3 separate regions of the Homo sapiens genome follow, and all the other regions are linked to region 1. The links are contacts of gene promoters, found by promoter capture Hi-C in human tissues and cell types (Jung and others, 2019). All regions are on one chromosome and are shown on one strand. Each heading gives the region's core, a stretch centred on a gene start or on the middle of the fragment in contact. The rest is flanking DNA. Distances are from core to core; before and after follow the strand shown.

Evidence for each region. The method cuts DNA at HindIII sites, captures the fragments that hold promoters and counts their contacts. A contact is called where the count stands out against the background at its distance.
Region 2: a contact is called between a fragment that was not itself captured here and the fragment with the promoter of OVCH1 in region 1, in 1 of the 25 tissues and cell types used here (H1 embryonic stem cells).
Region 3: a contact is called between a fragment that was not itself captured here and the fragment with the promoter of OVCH1 in region 1, in 1 of the 25 tissues and cell types used here (dorsolateral prefrontal cortex).

The regions. Positions count from the first base shown.
Region 1 is chr12:29,495,394-29,498,946 of GRCh38, forward strand. It overlaps OVCH1 (ovochymase 1), which reads right to left and starts at 2,293. Exons shown (of 26, transcript NM_001353179.2): 1 at 2,230-2,293; 2 at 1,163-1,281; 3 at 788-885; 4 at 1-64. The coding sequence starts at 2,293. The HindIII fragment of the contact is 2,638 bases long and covers 315-2,952 here.
Region 2 is chr12:30,552,727-30,555,906 of GRCh38, forward strand. No RefSeq gene overlaps it. Among named protein-coding and RNA genes, the nearest start is that of IPO8, 140 kb to the right of the region's middle. The HindIII fragment of the contact is 6,980 bases long and covers 1-3,180 here.
Region 3 is chr12:30,677,056-30,680,260 of GRCh38, forward strand. The region is part of intron 5 of IPO8 (importin 8); the gene reads right to left. Among named protein-coding and RNA genes, the nearest start is that of IPO8, 17 kb to the right of the region's middle. The HindIII fragment of the contact is 4,132 bases long and covers 1-3,205 here.

The DNA of each region.
Region 1 (3,553 bases), core at 1,043-3,542:
TTGCTTATCCTTCTGAAAGAGGCTGTACTCCCCAGAAGTCACAGTTATATTCTTCAGCTGCTTCCTAAAACCAAAGAAAAATGTTTCATAAGTAGTTGTTTCCCCTACGCAAGTCTTCTTGGTTTGATGTAATTAAATGAAAAGTGATTAATGTATCTTTAAGCATCCCTGAGTCTTTGAAGAAGGTTTTCCTTATTATTGAGTATTACCAATGGTCATATTTTTTTTAATCTAGAAAAAATCGTAGTTTTCAGTCATGTTTCCATTTTTCTGAGTCAAGTATTTAAATATTGCATCCTTTTCTTCTTTGATATACAAACCATAGTTCACACATGCAATGCCATTTGTAACAGGATACAGAAGTTTTTTTCTAGAACTGTTCCTTCTTTTCTCTTATTAGTACCCTCTTTTAATCTGGTCAAATATTTGTAATTTCTGCAGTTTTTTCCCTCCTAATGATTTAAACCCAGATGATTAAAACTTTGGAGCATCCATTTAACATTTCTTGTTAATGCTTTATTACAGTAAGTAACCACCACCTCTACCCAAGCACTAAATCCATAAATTATAGATGATGTCTGGGATTGTTTAATTCAGTAGAACAGGAAGCACTGGGAATCTTGGGACAGACACACATTTCTGGGAATCAGGAAGATCAGTGGGTGGGTACACTGGGAGGCAAAAGTAAGAAAGGGACTGAGAATGAACCTGCTATTTAGAGCAACAAATCTGCCAGTCGCATAGCCAGGAATCAAGGCCTGACAAGTAATGGAAATCCACAACTTACTCACTGAGGCTGTCCAGGCAGTGTGCTGCTGTAACAACCCGATCTTCTTGAATCAAGCTTCCTCCACAGAAGTGGTGCTCATCTGATTTTAGGGAGACCTACCCAAGAAGAAAGTTACAAATGCAGCTAATATGTCTCCCCACATATGTATCTCCATCGGAAACACTGGAGATCAACTTTTCTAATCTGACATAATATTCTTAAAATACCGACATAAATTGGATAGTAAGATAGTTCCTACGAAGTAAACTTTTTGGTAGAGAGCTAGAGGGGTTCAGGAGAAAAACTACATATCAACGTGCATTCTTGCTTTCGAAACAAAGGAAATATTTCACTGTTTTCTCATTAAGAAATCAATGCCTTTGTTGCACTGACCTGCCATGGATGTCCAGTCACTGTTGAATTTCTCCAACTACTAATTCTAGAGAAGAATCTAGATCCCACGGCAGGTTCCTTACTTTTCATGTTGACCATGCGAATTCCACACTTCAGTCCTGTGTAGAAGAGCATGTGTGTGTGCACACACAGAGCCTTATGTAAGAGTTCACTTTACCAAGATTTCCCATTTGGATTTTCCTGGCCTGGCACAGACATTCTGATAGCACTTAGCTGCAGACTACCACATTCTTCTCTCAATATTTTCTTCAGAATATCCCACAGTCACCTGGGTTGACCGGAATTTGCCTCCTGTCTGCTCCCTTTCAGCCTGTGTTACCACTGGGCAGGAAGGAGCCAGCGCTGCCTCTGGTAGGTGACTTGGGGCTTACTCTGGGAAGATGCAAATTTAGGTTGTGTTAAAGATACCAGGAGCCACATGCAGTGGTTCCCGCCTGTAATCCCAGCACTTTGGGAGGCCCAGGTAGGCTGATCACTTGAACCCAGGAGGTCAGAACCATGGGCAACATGACAAGACCCCATCTCTACAAAAAAATGTAAAAATTAGCCAAGTGTGGTGGTACGTGCCTATGGTCCCAGCTACTCAGGAGGCAGAGGCAGGAGGATCACATTAGCCCTGGAGTTTGAGGGAGCCGTGATCGCATCACTGCAGTCCAGCCTGGGTGACAGAGCCAGACCCTGTCTCAAACAAACAAACAAAACAAAAGATACTGAGGAATGACCTATACTACTCCGGAAGGGAGATATTTGTCTTTAAGTTACTTCTACTTGGTTAGGTTTCCTTGGAGGAGGCTCCTTAGTACACACATGATTAGCAGGTGTGCCTACAAACGAACTCTAAAATGCAAAAAATTTCAAAAAGGCAGTCTGGCCCAGACCTTCCTTTGGGGACATCTGAGCATGCACCACCCCCTCACCCTTTCTTCCCAAATGCCTCAGGTGTGGCTATACCACCCCGACTTCCTGAGGCAAGGAGTAATGAAGTCTTCCCTCTCCAGCACGCTCAGCCTCCTCCGCAGTCCTGGTGCCCAGGTCCCTAGGCTCACCTAGGCTTCTGGGGTGGCCGATGACCAGCAACAGCAACAAACCAGCACTGGCCAGCAGGCCCATAGCCTCCACGCACCGGCCTCGCACGTCCTCCCTCCCTGCAGGCTGAGAAAACTGTGGTGAAGGCGGGGGTCTCGCCCTTTATCCCCTCCTGCGGTGCCTATGGGCAGCACCTGCCGTGGCGCCTTGGTTCGCAGGTGTCCCTCTTCACGATCATTTGATCATTGTGAGCTGCCGCCGCTCTCTGGTCACCCCTGGTGTCACAGTGCCCCGCCACCCAGCCTTAGAGACTGGCACGAGGTGGCCCAAGGGGTGACAGTGGTGCTCACACGTGTGCAGAGGTTCCTGCTAGCAGATCCACAGCAAGCCAATCAGTGGCCTGGAACGCTTAGCCCTGCGAATTCCCAGACTGGGGAGTGCGGTCCAAGCTCAGGGGCAATGAAGCTGGTCCCCCACACGAAACACAGGCAGGACTTCTGAAAGGCGGAGGGTCAGGAAGCTTAGTACAATACTGCCCCTTCTAAGAAGCTTGTTGCCCTTGACCCTCTAGAGTTTTCAAAGAGTGAATAGGAAAGATCAGGCTTGAGCTGACATCATTTTCTGGGTGGCAGTACTGTCCTCCATTTCAGCAGAATGGCCCCAAAACTGTAGGATCCATCATTTAAGATGATTAAAATTAATCTAGTGGTGAGATATCACTTTTTTTCCCATGAATATTATTTTGTAATAAGTTAAGCTGAAGTTAGAAGACAAAGCCAGAATTTGTAATGGTCTTATATTTTGTCAGAAAATTAAGGCAAGGCTAAGTGGACATTCCATATATATCAAATAACCTGGCCACCAGTCCTTCAGCACCAGTTGGAGGATTTTACGTTCAAGTGCTCTATTTTACTTTCATGTAAAATAGAAATAAAAGCTTCTTGAGGTAGGAGGGTACATAAACTAATGGGGGCAGGTGGGAGATGAGCAGGTAGATGGGAAAACAGAAGGCAGTCAAGGTGGAGAGAATGCAGGCACAGGTACAAGCAGGTGACAATCTACTGGGGACAATGACCTCTGTGACTGCAGGAGAGAGCAGAGGGTAAATGGACACCATTTGAAGAAAAGACTAAAAAAAGTGAATGATGCCTGTCGCTGTGGCATCTTCAAAAGGTGTCCATTTACCCTCTGTGGCTAGTGGCTACCATATTGAACAGCACAAATACAGAACATTCTGTCATCACCAATAGTTTTATGGGACTGTGCTGTTCTTGAGAGTAGCACTATTTTCTTTTGAGTATTTATTTCAAGGAAAGACACCTCGGATGACAGTTTGAGTAGATG
Region 2 (3,180 bases), core at 396-2,895, 1.1 Mb after region 1:
CATTTAATTGAGTCAAGACATTACATTTATGAATTAATATTCCTTTAATCTTTAAACATATACAGTAAAATCTAACATCATTGACAGGTTTATCTAATGTATCTTTTGGTTAACTGACATTATGTTTTAAATTTGGTTTCATAATTGAGCCTTCAGTTTTTTATTATTCAGGGACCCACAGTATCTCAGGATTATCATTTTCAGTTTTCCCTTTCTGTTTGCCTACAAAAACCCTGTCTTCTAGCTCAGCAGCGCCTGAATATGTTTTGGGCATTGCTACCTCTGTGCCTGTTCATGTTCTTGGAACAGCCCACCCCACCCTGGCTTGACCACTGCTCATTCATGAAGCTGCACCTTGTTTCTTCCTTTCTTGGGAAGCTTTCCCTGACTACCCCAGCCACTTTGAGCTTGCTTCTGCAGAACTCTTTAAATACTGTCTATATCCATCATTTGAAAGTCACAATCTGTTGAATTGTGGTGTTAGGTCTCTCTATAACAATGTTTTATATCTTCCACTGCACTGGAAGTTCTTTAAGAAGAAAGACTGATTCTTTCTGTTTAAAACACTATGTCTTGCATCCAGTAGGTGTTTTATATCCACAGCATTAAAAATAAAAAGTATACATATTTTGCTCATTGATAAACACTTACAAATAGAGGCACCGTATGTTTTCCTTTTATTGGGCAAAGCCACTCCTTGGGCTCTATGATGTCTTAAAGTCATGCCAATTATATTTTGGACAAAACTTCAAGTTACAAAATTATGTCTGAAAATGAACAAGTGACTTTTGAAAAATAAATGCAAAGAAATTTGGAGAAAGTAAATTGAGGTTGAACCCTCAATAGAGACAACAATGCCAAATTTCAGATTGAAGTTATCTGGATATTCTCTCATCTGGTAAAAATTTTCAACATCGACCTTCTTAAGTTTTTTTACTAACATAATTTTATAATAAATTTATAAATATATACTATATGCATATATACATATGTAAACATGTTACTAAAATTATAAGGACTTAAAAAAAAGGCACTTGCTGATTGACCAATGGATCAAATAGTCTTACATGGAGGATAAATATATTTGAGTTAATAATAACAGCTAAAATGTGTTGGGTACTTACTACGTGACAGGCACTATTCTAACAGCTTTATATGTATTAACTAATTAAATGTTGATAACCACCCTATAAGTTAGATAATATTATTATCCTCATCTTACAAATAAACTAAGACACAAGAAGATTAAGTAACAGGCCCAACATCACAAGCTAATAAGTGACACAGTCAGGATTTTAGCCCATAGATTTAATTACTACACTATACTCCTTCTCTGGTTAAATATTAATTACTCCAAGAATACATACCCTGCAAGTTTAATCATTTCTTTTAATAGCACAGTTTTTTTATTATTTAGCTCTTTTAATGAAACTAACACAATAAAAGCGTGGACCAAAAAGAAAAAAACTTGGAGAGGGGTGGATAATGCTCTTCGAATATTTGAAGACATTTATTGTGGCAACAGAAATTTATTTTGTGTTGCTCTAAATAGATTTGGTATAAAACTAAAGCTGATAGTGGATACAGGAGGAATAAACATTTCAGCTTAAAATAAAGGATTTCCAGTCTTTATAGACTTTCTTTCATTAATGATCCAATCTTCTTTTAAGAACATTCAGCATCTTGTCATGGAGATACTTAAGCACAAGCCAGATGACCACATTATGATTAAATAAAAGATGTTACTAAATTGATGTTGAACTGTCCCTAGACAATAATTTTAGGATTTTTCTTTTCTTTCTTTTTTTTGCGGGGAGGGGGAGAGATAGAGTCTCACTTTGTCACCCAGACTGGAGTGGAGTGCAGTGGCATGATTTCGGCCCACTGCAACCTCTGCCTCCCAGGTTCAAGCGATTTTCCTGACTCAGCCTCCCAAATAGCTAGGACTACAGGTGCATGCCACTGTGCCTAGCTAATGTTTGTATTTTTTTTAAGTAGAGACAGGGTTTCACCATGTTGCCCAAGCTGGTCTCGAACTCCTGACCTCAAATTATCTGCCCGCCTTGGCCTCCCAAAGTGCTGGGATTACAGGCGTGAGCCACCACACCCAGCAATGTTAAGATTCTTAATGAGGAGTCAATAATGATGTAAATTTTTTCCAGGATCGAAATTTTTTTTTCAGGAAAAGCTCCATGGCATTGGATTTGGCAATAATTTCTTGGATATTGTAACAAAGGCACAGGTAACAAAAGAAAAATATATAAACAGACAACCAACAGAATGGGAGAAAATTTTTGCAAACTAGGCATTTGACAAAGTTATAATATCTGGCATCTATAAGAAACTTAAACAAATTTACAAGAAAAAAAACAAACAGACCCATTAAAAAGTGGGCAAAGGACATGAACAGACACTTCTCAAAAGAAGACATACATGTAGCCAACAAGCATATGAAAAAGAAGTTCAACATCACTGATCATTAGAGAAATGCAAATCAAAACCACAATGAGATACCATCTTACAACCATCGAAATGGCTATTGCTAAGAAGTCAAAAAATAACAAATGCTGGTGAGGTTGTGGAGAAAAAGGAACGCTTATACACTGTTGGTGGACATGTAAATTGCTTCAACCATTGTGGAAAACAGTGTGGCAATTCCTCAAAGGCCTAAAGATAGAAATACCATTTGACCCAGCAATCCCATTGCTGGGTATATGCCCAAAGGAAAACAAATCATTCCATTATAAAGACACATGCACACACATGCTCACTGCAGCACTATTCACAATAGCAAAGACATGGAATCAACCCAAATGCCCATCAATGATAGATCGGATAAAGAAAATGTGGTACATATATGGGATGGAATATTATGCAGCCATAAAAAAGAACAAGATCATGTCCTTTGCAGGGACATAGATGGAGCTGGTGGCCATTATCCTTAGCAAACTAACACAGAAACAGAAAAGCACATACATATGTTCTCATAAGTGGGAGCTAAATGATGAGAACACATGGACACATGCAGAGTAACAACACACACTGGGGCCTATCAGAGGGTGGAGGGTAGGAGGAGGGAGAAGATCAGGAAAAATAACTAATGGGTACTAGGCTTAATACCTGAGTGATGAAATAATCTATGCAACAAACTCTTATGACATATTTACATATGTAATAAAC
Region 3 (3,205 bases), core at 583-3,082, 1.2 Mb after region 1:
CTGTGAGTTGCAGAAGACGGATATTGCCTCCACATCCATTCAGTACAAAACATGCTACATGCTACAGACATAATAAGATAGACAATCTTTGCCCTCACGAAGCTTACACTCTAACTGGAAAAAATGTATATAAAGTCATGCACCACATAACAAATGTTTCGGTCAGTGACAGACTGCATATACAACAATGGTCCCATAAGATTAGAACACAGCTGAAAGATTCTTATCGCCTAGTGACATAGTAACCATCTTAAAGTCACAGCACAATGCATTACTCAAATATTTGTGGTGATGCTGGTGCAAACAAACCTACTGAATTGCCAGCTGTATAAAGTATAGCAATTTTATACAGTACGTAACTGGTAATGACAACTATGCTACTAGTTTATATTTTTACTACACAATACTTTTCATCATTAGAGTGTACTCCTTCTACTTTTTTTTTTAAGTTATCTAAAACAGCCTCTGGTAGGTCTTTCAGGAGTATTCCAGAAGGCATTGTTATCATAGATGACAGCTCCATGCATGTTATTGCCCCTGAAATGAAGACACTCCAGCAGGACAGAATACAGAAGTGGAAGACAGTGATATTGATGATCCTGACCCTGCATAGGCCTAGGCTAATGTGTGTGTGTCTTAGTTTTTAATGAAAAAGTTTGAAAAAAAATAAAATTCTAAAATATAAAACCTTTTAAAATATGGATATAAAGAAAATATTATTGTACAGTTGTACAACATGTTAATATTTTAAACTAAGTGTTAGTACAACAGAGTCAAAAAGTTAAAAATTTTAAAGTTTGGCCAGGCGTGGTGGCTCACGCCTGTAATCTCAGCACTTTGGGAGGCCAAGGCAGGCGGAACATGAGGTCAGGAGTTTGAGACCAGCCTGGCCAAAACAGTGAAACCCCGTCTCTACTAAGAATACAAAAAATTAGCCAGGCATGGTGGCAGGCGCCTGTAAATCGAGGCTGAGGCAGGAGAACTGCTTGAACCCGGGAGGCGGAGGTGGCAGTGAGCCGAGATTGTGCCACTGCACTCCAGCCCGGGCGACAGAGGGAGACTCCATCTCAAAAAAAAAAAAAAAAAAATTTAAAGTTTATGAAGTAAAAAAGTTACAGTAAGCTAAGCTAGGGTTAATTTATTATTGCAGATAAATTTTATAAATTTAGTGTAGCCTAAATGTTCAACATTTATAAGCATAGACTAACGTCCTAGGCCTTCACATTCACTCACTACTACCTCACCCACAGCAACTTCCAGTCCTGCAAGTTCCATTCATGGTAAGTACCCTATACAGGAGTGCTTTTTAAAAAATATCTTATACTGCATTTTTAGCATATCTTTTCTATTACTTACCATTGAGTTACAGCTGCTTTCAGTATTTGGTACAGTAACATGTACAGGTTTGCAGCCAGGGAGCAACACACAGCCTAGGTATGTAGTAGGCTATAGCATCTAGGTTTGTGTAAGTACACTCTACAATGTTCACAGAGGGACAAAAATTACTTAACAATGCATTTTCTCAGAATGCATCCCCAAAGTTAAGTAACACATGACTGTACATGTACAAAGGTAGGAATAAGAGAAGAAGGTGAGGAGATGAAGGGCTTTATGGGCTATATTAAGAAGTTTCAAATGCACTTTATTCTAAGTGCATTTGGAAGCCATTTGGATTTGATATAGGGAACAGAGGAGAAGTAGGCTGAGGGTTAGGCTGAGCTTATGTATAGAATATCCAAGTGTCCTGTACAAATATTATGCTACTTAGACAAGATCTGTTGTATCATACTTTTATTTTATTTGAGGCGGAGTCTCGCTCTGTCACCCAGGCTGCAGTGCAATGGTGCAATCTCAGATCACTGCAACCTCCGCCTCCTGGGTTTGAGCAATTCTCTCACCTCAGCCTCTGGAATAGCTGGAATTAGAGGCACCCGCCATCATTTCTGGCTAATTTTTGTATTTTTCTAGAGATGGGGTTTCACCATGTTGGCCAGGCTGGTCTTGAACTCCAGACCTCAGGTGACCCACCCACCTTGGCCTCCCAACGTGCTGGGATTACAGACCTGACCCACTGCACCCGGCTGCTCATACTTTTAAAAACAAAATTGTCTGCTCCTTCTCATATTATCGCTTTTTACTTATGTCAGCATTGTAATAGTGGCTCCTAATGCCTTCTAAATTTCTACTTCCCAGAGGAGAATATTAATGTATTAGTACATAACAGATTACCAAAATGGTTAAAAATGTTGAGGTTTTCCAGGTTTTTAGCAAGTATAGACTGAGAAAAATATGAAGATTCTGTCGTCTTAGCAAACCAATTAGAGGTAGAGGCTTTAGAAAAATTATTTCATTAGCCTTTGTCTTACTTCCCAATTTCTAGCTGTTTCTGCCAATAGAAAAAGGAAGTCTGGCCTCTGAATATTATTTCAAAACAAGTGAGAGAACATATTTTCCTAGTATTCTAGTTTCTTCTCTTCTCACATTTGCCTCCTTCCCTCTTCTCTTTCCCTGCAAAAAGGCTGCTCTGGGGGAAAAAAAAAAATATCTGCCTCAGACTATCCCTATTAAAAGTTTAAAAGGGGAAGCTTTAATAAAAATATAAATCTTTATTAAAGTAAAATATTTTGAAATAGTTTAAGTATCTAAGTCAATAAAAAGCCAAGGATGGATCCAAACTATCATGGTTTTTGAGCTCAACAAAACCATCCTCTTCTCACGACAAATTCAACTAGAAAGCATGTAATAGAGTTTAATTCATTCATCAAACAGTTAAGACTGAAAACAATTATTCTTCCTCCAATCAGACCTAAATAATTTACCCAAATCTTTCAAGGATTTGATGTTAAATATTTTTATATTTCAAACATATTCCATCTCTATCTTCTCATTTCTTTCCGGATTCCCATGTTGGTATCCCTTATAGCATTCAGATTTTTTTTTTTTAGGCAGTATTTTAAACCAAGGAAAATGAACCCTAAATCCTCTGTTAGCTTTGAGTCAAATGCAAAGAAACTACCATCAATATGATTTCCCAATAGAAGAGGGACTCCCTTCTTCTTTTCCTTCTTCTTTTCCTTCTTCTTTTCCTTCTTCTTCTCTTGTAATCATAACTAATCTATAGGCAGGAATGCTACAGAACAGATAGTTGCGAGTAATCAGGTTTTAGAGCAGGTAGGTTTACCTACCCTGGTTCTGCTTTACCCAT